Regions from separate parts of the Homo sapiens genome. Here region 1 is linked to region 2. Evidence: promoter capture Hi-C in 16 types of primary human blood cells and fetal thymus (Javierre and others, 2016). All regions are on one chromosome and are shown on one strand. Each heading gives the region's core, a stretch centred on a gene start or on the middle of the fragment in contact. The rest is flanking DNA. Distances are from core to core; before and after follow the strand shown. Region 1 overlaps YWHAZ (tyrosine 3-monooxygenase/tryptophan 5-monooxygenase activation protein zeta). Region 2 holds the start of RRM2B (ribonucleotide reductase regulatory TP53 inducible subunit M2B).

The links. The method cuts DNA at HindIII sites, captures the fragments that hold promoters and counts their contacts. A CHiCAGO score of 5 or more calls a contact.
Region 1: a fragment that was not itself captured here is called in contact with the fragment with the promoter of RRM2B in region 2 in 1 of 17 cell types (fetal thymus); the score reaches 8.4 in fetal thymus.

The regions. Positions count from the first base shown.
Region 1 is chr8:100,943,879-100,949,408 of GRCh38, reverse strand. It overlaps YWHAZ (tyrosine 3-monooxygenase/tryptophan 5-monooxygenase activation protein zeta), which reads left to right. Exons shown (of 6, transcript NM_145690.3): 2 at 509-813. The coding sequence starts at 520. Among named protein-coding and RNA genes, the nearest start is that of YWHAZ, 5.4 kb to the left of the region's middle. The HindIII fragment of the contact is 2,056 bases long and covers 1,385-3,440 here.
Region 2 is chr8:102,235,032-102,240,210 of GRCh38, reverse strand. It overlaps RRM2B (ribonucleotide reductase regulatory TP53 inducible subunit M2B), which reads left to right and starts at 1,250. Exons shown (of 9, transcript NM_015713.5): 1 at 1,250-1,384. The coding sequence starts at 1,337. It overlaps UBR5-DT (UBR5 divergent transcript), which reads right to left and starts at 760. Exons shown (of 3, transcript NR_125415.1): 1 at 511-760. RefSeq lists a silencer at 827-1,256 and enhancers at 1,327-1,426, 2,730-3,929. The HindIII fragment of the contact is 7,159 bases long and covers 1-2,426 here.

The DNA of each region.
Region 1 (5,530 bases), core at 1,163-3,662, 1.3 Mb after region 2:
GTAATCACTCTTGACAAGAGTATTATGAAAGTAAAAAGACGTGAGTTACATTAAACTGATATGAATTATGATTCTGGAAATATGATAGAAATCCAGATGTTCTCTGTAAACAATGCTTTTACTAAAGGAAGAAAAGCTGCTTAATTTTGGATCACTTAGTGGTATTGGAAATGAGTTGAGATTTTGATCAGGTAAGATTAGGGGTAGTTTTTGAGGCAGCTTTTGGAAGTAATTTTGACATGTGAAATTTGGGTCTTCTGAACAAATTTTAAGTTTTGCTACACTGATGTGTTAATGGCTGTAAGTTTACCTCTGATGCTGAGTATGCTAAATTTTTTTCCCTTTTTTGACTATCCTTTTGTGAGGCTGCATTTTAATTCCTCATGTGAACAGTCTTTCACAGGCAGTTAGGTTTCAGGTTTAAAAAACTCATTTACCACAGGTATAATTTTGAGTCTGTTTATTTTGATGGGAAAAATTTTAAATACTCCTTTTTTCCCCCCTGCAGAACATCCAGTCATGGATAAAAATGAGCTGGTTCAGAAGGCCAAACTGGCCGAGCAGGCTGAGCGATATGATGACATGGCAGCCTGCATGAAGTCTGTAACTGAGCAAGGAGCTGAATTATCCAATGAGGAGAGGAATCTTCTCTCAGTTGCTTATAAAAATGTTGTAGGAGCCCGTAGGTCATCTTGGAGGGTCGTCTCAAGTATTGAACAAAAGACGGAAGGTGCTGAGAAAAAACAGCAGATGGCTCGAGAATACAGAGAGAAAATTGAGACGGAGCTAAGAGATATCTGCAATGATGTACTGGTGAGAATCAATTCAGTCTGGCTTCATTATACTGTAGGGTCCCTATGAGTATCAGTTACATTACTCTTAACTTTTTGTTTGGTTTTTCTTTTCCTTCTAAACATTGTGTGTTCCAAATTTAAAAGTCTTCATGGTGTCATGACTAAAAAGATGTTAAGACAATTATAGATACGTGTATGTAAAATAATTGCAACAATGATTATGAAACAGTTCAGTTTTGTTAAAAATAACAGACTTTAGTATTGTATTTTATATTAATTGAAAATATAAACTAATTGTGTTACTGTTTTACTTATGGTTAGAATATTTGTAGTAGCTCTATAGCTGGTTATCTTAAATGTACATCTGTGGATAAAGGAATTTTACATACTTTAGGTAAGAGAGATGTAATAGGATACTCATTGTAGAAATAGTACTCTTCTCAGGATTAGCCGCTATAATGTTAATGTAATGAGTCAACCATGCAGAAAACTCTGGCGTCACAACTATGAAACCTCTTCCTGCATTGAATTCTTGAAGGTAAATTTTGAACACTCACAACCATGATGAAAGGTTATGAACAACTCAAGCTTGATTTTCCAGTTTGAATCGAGTATTTTAAGTATTCAGTACTTACTGTGTTGAAGCACTGCGCTTAAAAGAATTAAACTACATTTTGGTTAATTTTAATCTGTCATATAAAGTAGGGCTTTTTGATCAAGAATAGTTTAAATTTGAGGATAAACCAGTAGAGAATCCAACCAAGCTGGCAGTTTTTGGAATAATATTTAAAGTGGTTTTACTAAATGGTTACACTTAACCAGTATGGAAGGGCTCTGATATACAAAGAGGGGCAGCATCTCGATTTTTCTGGACAGATTACTGAATCTGGAACTCAGTATGGAAATCCAGGTTTGTTACTTACTATATGAACCTTGTTTATGGAAGAAGTGCTATAATGAGCAATAGGATAATGTCTGATGTGGTTGTGGGTTTGGGGTTTTTGTTAAAGTTGTGATGATACTATCATTTCTTTACATTTGTATTTACTAATGGAATAGCATCAGTTCCTAAACTGTAATTTTCTCAAATGATACTTACTTGACACTGTCTTTTTAAAGAATAGTGATTTTTTAAACATGCTTATTTGGGTTCACAGCCACAAACTCAATGAGGCATCTGTCTTGGGGCATTTTTTTGTTCTTTGCTTATTGAAACCTTTAGAATGATAGCTACTATTTGTATCTAAGTTGAAAAAAGGAATATCTTGCTTTTATTGGGGCCAAGTGACAAATGTCTGTTTTGTGATTTTGCTAAGGTAATAAGAATATTTAAATTTTGTTTTTTGTTTTTTTTTTTTTTTGAGACGGAGTCTTGCTCTGTTGCCCAGGCTGGAGTGCAGTGGCGCGATCTCGGCTCACTGCAAGCTCCGCCTCCCGGGTTCACGCCATTCTCCTGCCTCAGCCTCCCGAATAGCTGAGACTACAGGCGCCTGCCACTGCGCCCGGCTAATTTTTTTGTATTTTTAGTAGAGACGGGGTTTCACCATGTTAGCCAGGATGGTCTCGATCTCCTGACCTCGTGATCCGCCCTCCTCAGCCTCCCAAAGTGCTGGGATTACAGGCTTGAGCCACCGCGCCCGGCCAAATATTTAAATTTTGAAAATGTGATTTTTTTTTTCTATAATAAAAAATGTATTGGGTTTTTTTGTTTTTTTTGTTTTTTTTTTTTGCTCACCTTACTAACTAATATCTGTGTATGTGTAATTCAGTTTTGTTCAGTCTGGAGTGTTTTTCCCAATTATTACACCTGATCGAAAAGTTTTTATTTTGGCTTCAAAGGGTGTGTTACACATTAACATTTCCCTTAAGACAAAAGTCAATTTTAGGAATAAAAAGGAATGTAACATTTACCTTTTACTAACACGCTTATTTGCAATACCAGGTAGGTATGTGCATGTTTTCCATATACAAAGTATAAAAGTTCCTGTCATTGTGAGTCTTTTCCAAGGAAAAGACTTGTAGCAGGTTTGTTTTTTGTGTATGTTTGTTTGTTTGTTTGTTTTGAGACTGAGTTTTGCTCTTGTCACCCAGGCTGGAGTGCAATGGCACCATCTCAGCTCACTGCAACTTCCGCCTCCCGTGTTCAAGCAATTCTTCTGCCTTGACCTCCCGAGTAGCTGGGATTACTGGGCGTGCACCAGCACGCCCAGCTAATTTTTGTACTTTTAGTAAAGATGGGGTTTCACCTTGTCGGCCAGGCTGGTGACCAGGTCACGTCTAACTCTTGACCTCAGGTGATCCACTCGCCTTGGCCTCCCAAAGTGCTGGGATTACAGGAGTGAGCCACCACGTCCAGCCCAACTTGTAGCAGTTTTGACTATGCTTCCCTTTAGTTTCCTTATGAAGAAACTTTGTTTGCATAGAACCAGTAGATGAGGATAACAAGATAATCTCTTCATATAAATAGTTTCTTCTTGTTATGATTATTAAGGAAGTTCACTCTGGTCCCTACCCACATCGTTACCCTCCAGAATAGCACTGGCTTCCCAAAAAGTTTTAATGGTATTTACACTTTGAAAGTTTGGATAAATGAGAGTTTAATTTCTTTACTATACAAATGGCTTTGAAGAGAATTCTAAACAAGCTTTTGCTTCCAGCCTTGGTCTTTTCAGGAGTAAGACTTAGTGATCTTTGCATACTCAACGTGTAATAGATGCTCAAATATTTGTTAAACAAGCAGAAAGGCTTCTTTAGAGAAAGAGCATAGAATTAGGTCAGCAGCACTGCAAAATTTCCCTAGCTTTTTCTTTTTCTGCTTGGGAAAATTTGATATTTACCGATAATAGGCTTCTTTTTCCTACCATCTTTTTCAAATAGGTCACATCGACTCTGGAAACATATTGCATAAAATTCCTTCTGCCCTTTCTGTGAGATGGAAGAATAAAATGTAGCAGAACTGATATTTCTACTAGAAAAAGTTATTGAATCATTATTAATGATTAGTAAAAATATTTTAAATTATATTTTTAAGATCTTACATGATAAAAAATCAATTATAATTTTTTATTACTCCAGCCTTTTCTGGGCTTTGATATATATATTTTTTAATTTGAGAAAAATAAGCAGGTGTCCCTTTGCAGAAATAATAGTATTGGCTTGTGGCATTAGTGATAACCAGATTTTTTATATTGAGCACCTATTTTATAATAGCTATGAAAATAAACTTTCTTCCTACAAAAAGCAGCTAATCTCCAAAGTTCTGAGTTTTTCTGAAGAGCTCTTTAGTAACCCATTCTGGTTATATGTATTTATCTATTGTTTAACCATTTAATAAGCAAAGAGCTTGGACCATGTTGCATATTACAAGAGTAAATAGAGCATTATGGCGGGAAGTGGTCACTGGCATGCTCTTCACAATGTGGACTTTGCATTATGTAAAAGAACTTGGGTTTCTTCTCTTCCACGTGTTAATTTCAAACTGCAATATGTGAACTAATGCAATCTGCCTTTCCTGCCAGATGCTTAGACAAAAGCTCTCTTGGTAGTTGGGGAGGGACTCAACACTAGTACCTCTTTAAACCTGAAAGATGGCAGCCAAAAATTGGGTAGTTTTTATCTTGCACATGATGAAATGAATACCAAGGAAATACAGTCTAGGAAGCCTCTTTCAAACTCAAAGAAGTATGTCGAGGTGAATAATGGAGCTCAAGATACTGAGTCAAACTAGTTTTACCATTTAATAGATGCATGGCCTGAGGAAATCACTCAGTCCCTCTGAGAAAACTAAGCTCAATTAAATAGGAATAATACTCATCCCACAGGGTTGTGGGGAATGAGAGTCAGGTAAAGCACCTTGACTACCTTCTGTGTCCTGTTTATCTTAGCTTTTCAGTTCTATTTAAAAGTGTGAGCCTGCCTATAATAGTGCAGGGGTCTCTTAACTTACAGTCCATGAATGGAATTTCGAAGATTGAAGAAGCCTTTAAAATTGTGTATTTTTGTGGGGCAGAAGGTCCATGCCAACCATCAAATTTTCAAAGGTTTCATTTTAAAATTTAAAATCCACTGCTGTAGGCAGAGAATGACTTTATATAGGAGGTCTCCGAGAGGAAGCAGTGTAAAATTGTGTGTCTAACATTTATAACAGTTGGCAACTGCAGTTGAGTAATCTTAATAGTGATTCTGTTAATTTGACTGAGTTCTATTTTATTGCTGCTCTACGTTTTTATTTGCTCAGGGCAATTTTAAGTTGTGGTTATGGGTCACTGATTTTTATCTCCAGCCCACAGAACTACCATTAAACAGAAATAAGAAAGCAAGCGGCTTTGGGTCCGTTTTAGTCTGAATATATTATTACGTGCCTTGGGCTTTAAAAACTGCTATGTAGAGTTAGCAGTTTTTAAGATGAAAATCACTAGACAGCTCATTGGAATAAGGGCTTCTCCAAAGAACTCTGTAGGGTTATATCTATTGTTACTATTTCATTTTATTAAGATATACTGTATATTTACATGTCTTCATGGTTTTGGTATGTTTCAAAGTATAAATAATCCCAGTTCTGTGGTCTCAGGAAGGAAAAAATTGGACAGTGTCTTTTTTTTCTTTTTTTCTTTTTTCTTTTTTTTTTTGAGACGGAGTCTTGCTCTGTCGCCTAGGCTGGAGTGCAATGGAACGATCTCGGCTCACTGCAAGCTCTGCCTTCCGGGCTCACGCCATTCTCCTGCCTCAGCCTCCCG
Region 2 (5,179 bases), core at 1-2,500:
GCATTTGACCCCTAGTAGTTGCTTTAAGAAAGACTGTCTACCCCTACGCTATGGCAGGTTTGAGAAAGGGCTTTCAGCATTTTCAACGCTTAAAGTGAGATCTTGATCCTATTTACCATCCTTCAGCCAGCCACAAAACAGGTGCATGCTGTTCAGGTCATGGCAAGATCCCGTCAATCTTTCAGCTTCAAACTACTTAAACAAATCTCTCTTCCATTTTATTTTTGTTAGACCAAACTATTTTTTTCAAAATATATTTTTTTCAAAATATTTGCCTGACTTTAGTAACGTGTCCCTCTCCCCCTCACTCACCCGCATTCACACACACACACACACACTTTCCCCCAGACACTTCCCCTTTTCGGTTGTTTACGCACGAAACCAGCCAGCCCTTTCCCTAGCGAAGTGTTTGGCGGTGTAGCTGTCCCGTCCCCGGCGCTTCCCACAGCAACAGCGCGTTCTCTTCGCCTCCCGCAGTCTCTCAGGACAGGCCAGGCTAGCGCAAAGTACCGTGTTCCTGGAACACCACGAGGGCGAGCTCGGGAATCTCGAGCCGGCCTGCAGGACACCTGCCGCACCAAGTGGCTAGAGCCCGGGGAGGGCGAGGCGAGGTGGGACGAGGCGGGGTGGTGAGCGGGCCGGGAAGGCGAGGCCGCGCGGACTCTGGGATAGCTCCTCAGGAGTGGGCGCCCGGAGTGGGCGAGCGGAGGAGGCGGGGCCGATGAGGTGAGGTGGGGCCAGCTGGAGTAGGCTAAGCAGTCCAGAGCAGGGGGCGTCCCTCAGTGGAAAGCCGGGCGACTGGGCGGTGCAACAGAGTAAGGCGGGGCCAGCGGAAGCAGGGAGATTTCCTTAGGCCGCAGGCGGGGAAATGGGGCTGGCCGGGGTAGGCGGAGCCCCGAGGCAGGGGAGGCGTGGCTGGCAGAGGTAGGCGGTGCCCCAAGGCAGGCGGGGCTTGCCGAGACAGGGATAATCCCTTAGGCCACAGGCTGGGAGGCAGGGCAGGCCGAGGCGGGGAGGATCCCTTAGGCCGCAGTAGGGGAGGCGGGTCGGCCGAGGCGGGGAGAAACCCTTAGGCCGCAGGCGGGGAGGCGGGGCTGGCCGAAGTTAGGCGGAGCCCCGAGGCGGGGGAGGCGGGGCCGGGCCGGCGCAGGGAGAGTCACTCAATGGACAGGCGAGAAAGCAGGACCGGCGCGGCGGGGCGGGGCCGGCCGAGTCCCTAGAGCTGGGGGCGGGGCGGACCCAGCGGACCAGCGGACCACCTGGGTGCTGTCGTAGTTGGAGGTGGCCTGAGGAGCTCAGTTCCCTCAGCGCCCGTAGCTTCGGCGGAGTCTGCGCGATGGGCGACCCGGAAAGGCCGGAAGCGGCCGGGCTGGATCAGGATGAGGTAAATGTTGCTGTTGCGTCTTCCCCCTCACCGCAGTCACGCCAGCCCGTTAGATTGCAAGTTGCAGGACCGCTGTAGGAAATGTTATTCGCCGCGGTCAGGACAGGCCTGTCCGCCCGCCCTCGCCGCAGCCTGGCTTCGTCGTTGCGAGCGCCGGGGAGGCCGTCCCCGGGGAGGGCGGAGGAAGGAGCTGACTTTGGGTTTGCGTCCCGCTCGCTGCTCTGCCCCGGGGCCAGCCAAGGACGACGCTTGGAGGCCTCAGGCCGGGGTGAGACTTACCCCTGCGTTTATCCGCCTCACGCTCTCCCACCCTCCTTCCCTGTTTTGGAGCCCTGGCCAGGGAAACCGAGGCAAGGAAAGAGGACTGTGGCGGCTCTGCTGGAGAGGTGCATACCATTTGGGATGGTGACAAGGAGTTGGAGAACGCGTGTGGAAATTGACACAGGTGGCTGGGGTGAAGATGACAGGTAGAAGGGGACACGAAATCCTCATGACCTCCTCCCAGTGAAAAAATCAGGGTAGGAGGCCAGTTTTGCTCAGGCCCGGCTCCTTAACTAACTGAATCTTCGGGGTGTCACTTTCTTCCTTTATACAATGGAAGTGATACTTCAGAGAGAATTAAGTAAAATGCTTTATGCAAAGTGCCACGAAAATTGTAGGTGCTTAATAAGCCCAAGTTGTTCATCCAAGTTGTTTATGCTGATAAAAGTACCTAAAATAAATAAACCAGAATTTGTTAGACTGTAGGATTGTATGGTAGTTTAAACTGTTGCTGTATAATTTTCAAACACTGTCATTTTGCAAATACTTCTAAGCCCTTTGTGGACAAGAGAAATGCTTTTTGTACTACTGGAACCTGTTGCTGTGGTATCTTTGATTTAATACTGTGAAGATTTGGGGGAAACAAACGTTTCCACCCCAAGAGATTCATGCTTGGCCCTACATTTCTTTAGAAAGTTGTAGATTCCAGGTTTGAGATTTTATTTTATTTAACTTGATTTTTGTAAGCATTTAGTAACTAACTGTAAATATCCCTCAAGCTTTTTCTTCCTGTTTTGAAACAAATGCGTTTAGTACCAACTTCCCTACTCAAAGGGGAAAATTCAGACTGCTGTTTATGCTAATGGCACCAGCAGTGATTCAGGCTTAACACCTGGATATTACATTTTATTTATTACTCCTATCTCAATGATACAGACCCGCAAGGACAGACAGAATTTTAGATTCAGAATGAATTTTAGTGGTCCAAAAGTTTTTAACTTGAGATGCTGGGTTGCCTGAAGCACTTTGTTTTTCTAGATGCCAGAGTGCATAATAGGAGACCTGCATCAGAGTCACTTGGAGTATTTTGTAAAAAATGTAAATTGCTGGACCAACACCCCAAACATAGTGAATCAAAATCTCTTGAGATCTGCATTTTTAACAAGTACTTCAGGTGATCCTGGTACACATATTAAAACAAAAACAAAAAACCCCCCACTGTCTTAAAGGGTCCATAGATAGACTAGAAGGGGCTTTATAAATCTCCTGAAGTGATATGTAGATTTTGTATGTGCAGATGTGAATCTTCTGAGAAAGGGGTCCATAGTTATTGTCAATTTCTCAGAGTTAACTATTGCTAATCTAATTCATAGTCTATTGTCAAGGTAAAGTTTAGGCCAGAAAACATTAAATGGCATGCCCAGGACTCAGTAGAGGAGCTAAATTTAAAACCAAGTTCTTGCACCTGGGCGGGTATCCCATTGGTTCCGTCAGACTTTGTGGGAATAGAAGTGAAAATAATACTTACAAGTAGTGTATGACTATGACAACATACAGCTATTTTACAGAAGTAGAAGAGACATAAAGGCAAAGAAACGGAAGTGGTGGAATTGGGGCTGGATAGGAGGTAAGAGCCTGGTATGATGCCAGCCTAGATTGGGGCATCGTAAGTGCTTGCTGGGAAATCTTGACCTAAATTGTTGTCCTGACATGCCCAGGCATGTCTTCCAACTGGGTGACCAGAAATTGAGTCAGTCGGAAACTGGAAGTACCATTCTGGAAAAAACAGCAGAATGTCACTAAGGAATGCCTACTGCTAAACTTTATTTCAAATTCTCATCACTTTACACCTGTGCGGCTATAATAATTTTGTTGTTTCTCTATCTCCTATCTTACCTGCCATTCAATCCTAATTACCATTGCCAAGTTAATCCTTCATTAGACCAGTGCCTCAGTGTCACTGACCCTGTGTCCCCCAAAAAACTCCCAAAAGAGTCTCAATTCCTACCAAAAAGCCTGGCCAACACCTCAGGCTGGTGAAGTCTTGTTGAAGCTGCTTTTTTCATGCTAACTGCCACATCTTAATTCAAGTCCTCATTTCCATCTTTGAAATTGGTTCCTTAGTTGCTTGCAAAATCTAGTTTTTTATCAATTAATCCTATACGTGGTTTTCTGATTAGTCTTCCTAATGCCACCTCTATTCATGTTAATTCCCATTCAGAAACTCTCCATGACTATTTGTACCCCCAAATCTGTGGGGTACAGATTTTCAAACTGTACCCTGCTATGAACGCCAGCACCTGGGGTTGGGGGCAAATGGGGAGAATTGGAGTATGAGCCTTCTAGACCTCCGATGTTTGAAGATCTTTGGCCACAAAATTGATTCCTAACCTCTTAGTCTGATTTATCTTAAGAGTCTAGATCCTTTGCTTTAGCCAAATCACATCATTCCTACTTTTGCTTTTCCTTGTCCTGCATCCATTTCAGCCTGTTTTAATCTCAGCTGGCTTCTCTTCTTTCATCTGCCCTTTAAATATCAGCATTCTCTAAGACTGTATCCTCAGTTGTCTTGCTGCTCTATATGTTCTCTCTGGATAATCACATCCATTCCCTTGGCAACCACTAATGGGATCTCCATCACTCGTGTTCTGCAGTGTTATATTTTTAACTGCTTACTGGACATCTTGAAACTGAATTCATTATCTTTTCTATTCTTTTTTTTTTGAGACGGAGTCTCACTCTGTCACCAGGCTGGAGTACATACAGTGGCACAATCTCGGCTCACTGCAACCTCTGCCTCTTGGGTTCAAGTGATTCTCCTGCCTCAGCCTCCCGAGTAGTTGGGAGTACAGGCGTACGCCACCACGCCCGGCTAATTTTTGTATTTTTAGTAGAGACGGGGTTTCACCATGTTGGCCAGGATGGTCTCAATCTCTTGACCTTGTGATCCGCCCGCCTCGGCCTCCGAAAGTGCTGGGATTACAGGCGTGAGGCACCACGCCGGGCCTGAATTCATTATCTCTTCTAATGACCTAGTTGACTTTGTGAGGATATTGTGTTTGTAACTTTGTTGTTGTCGCCTGGCTTGGTGGGAGGAGTTAAATTAAACTTCCGTTAAACATCTAATGTGAGAAGCAAAATTTTTGTCTGATTTATTTATTTATTCTCCAGGTACTGAGCACCTTGTGTGTGCCTTTTAGATCTTGTTATCACCCAGTTACTGGAGCTGGAAACATCAAGGGCATCTTTAACTGTTCTTGCCCCTTGTCCCAAATTCAAATTTTTAGGAAGAATAATTCATTCTACTTCTGAATATCACTTAAATCAATTTTTGTGTGTGTTTCTAGTTCAGGCAAGAGATGGGTAGTACAATAATCTTTTCATTGTTCTTTCTGCCTCTAATTTCTCTTCTAATCTAGCAATGTTTCTAGAAAAGCGATCTTAAAAGATATATCTGATTATGTTATTTGCCTTATTAAAAACCTTCAGTGGCTCCCAATAGCATACATCTTAGAGTTATTAGATGCCAAAGTG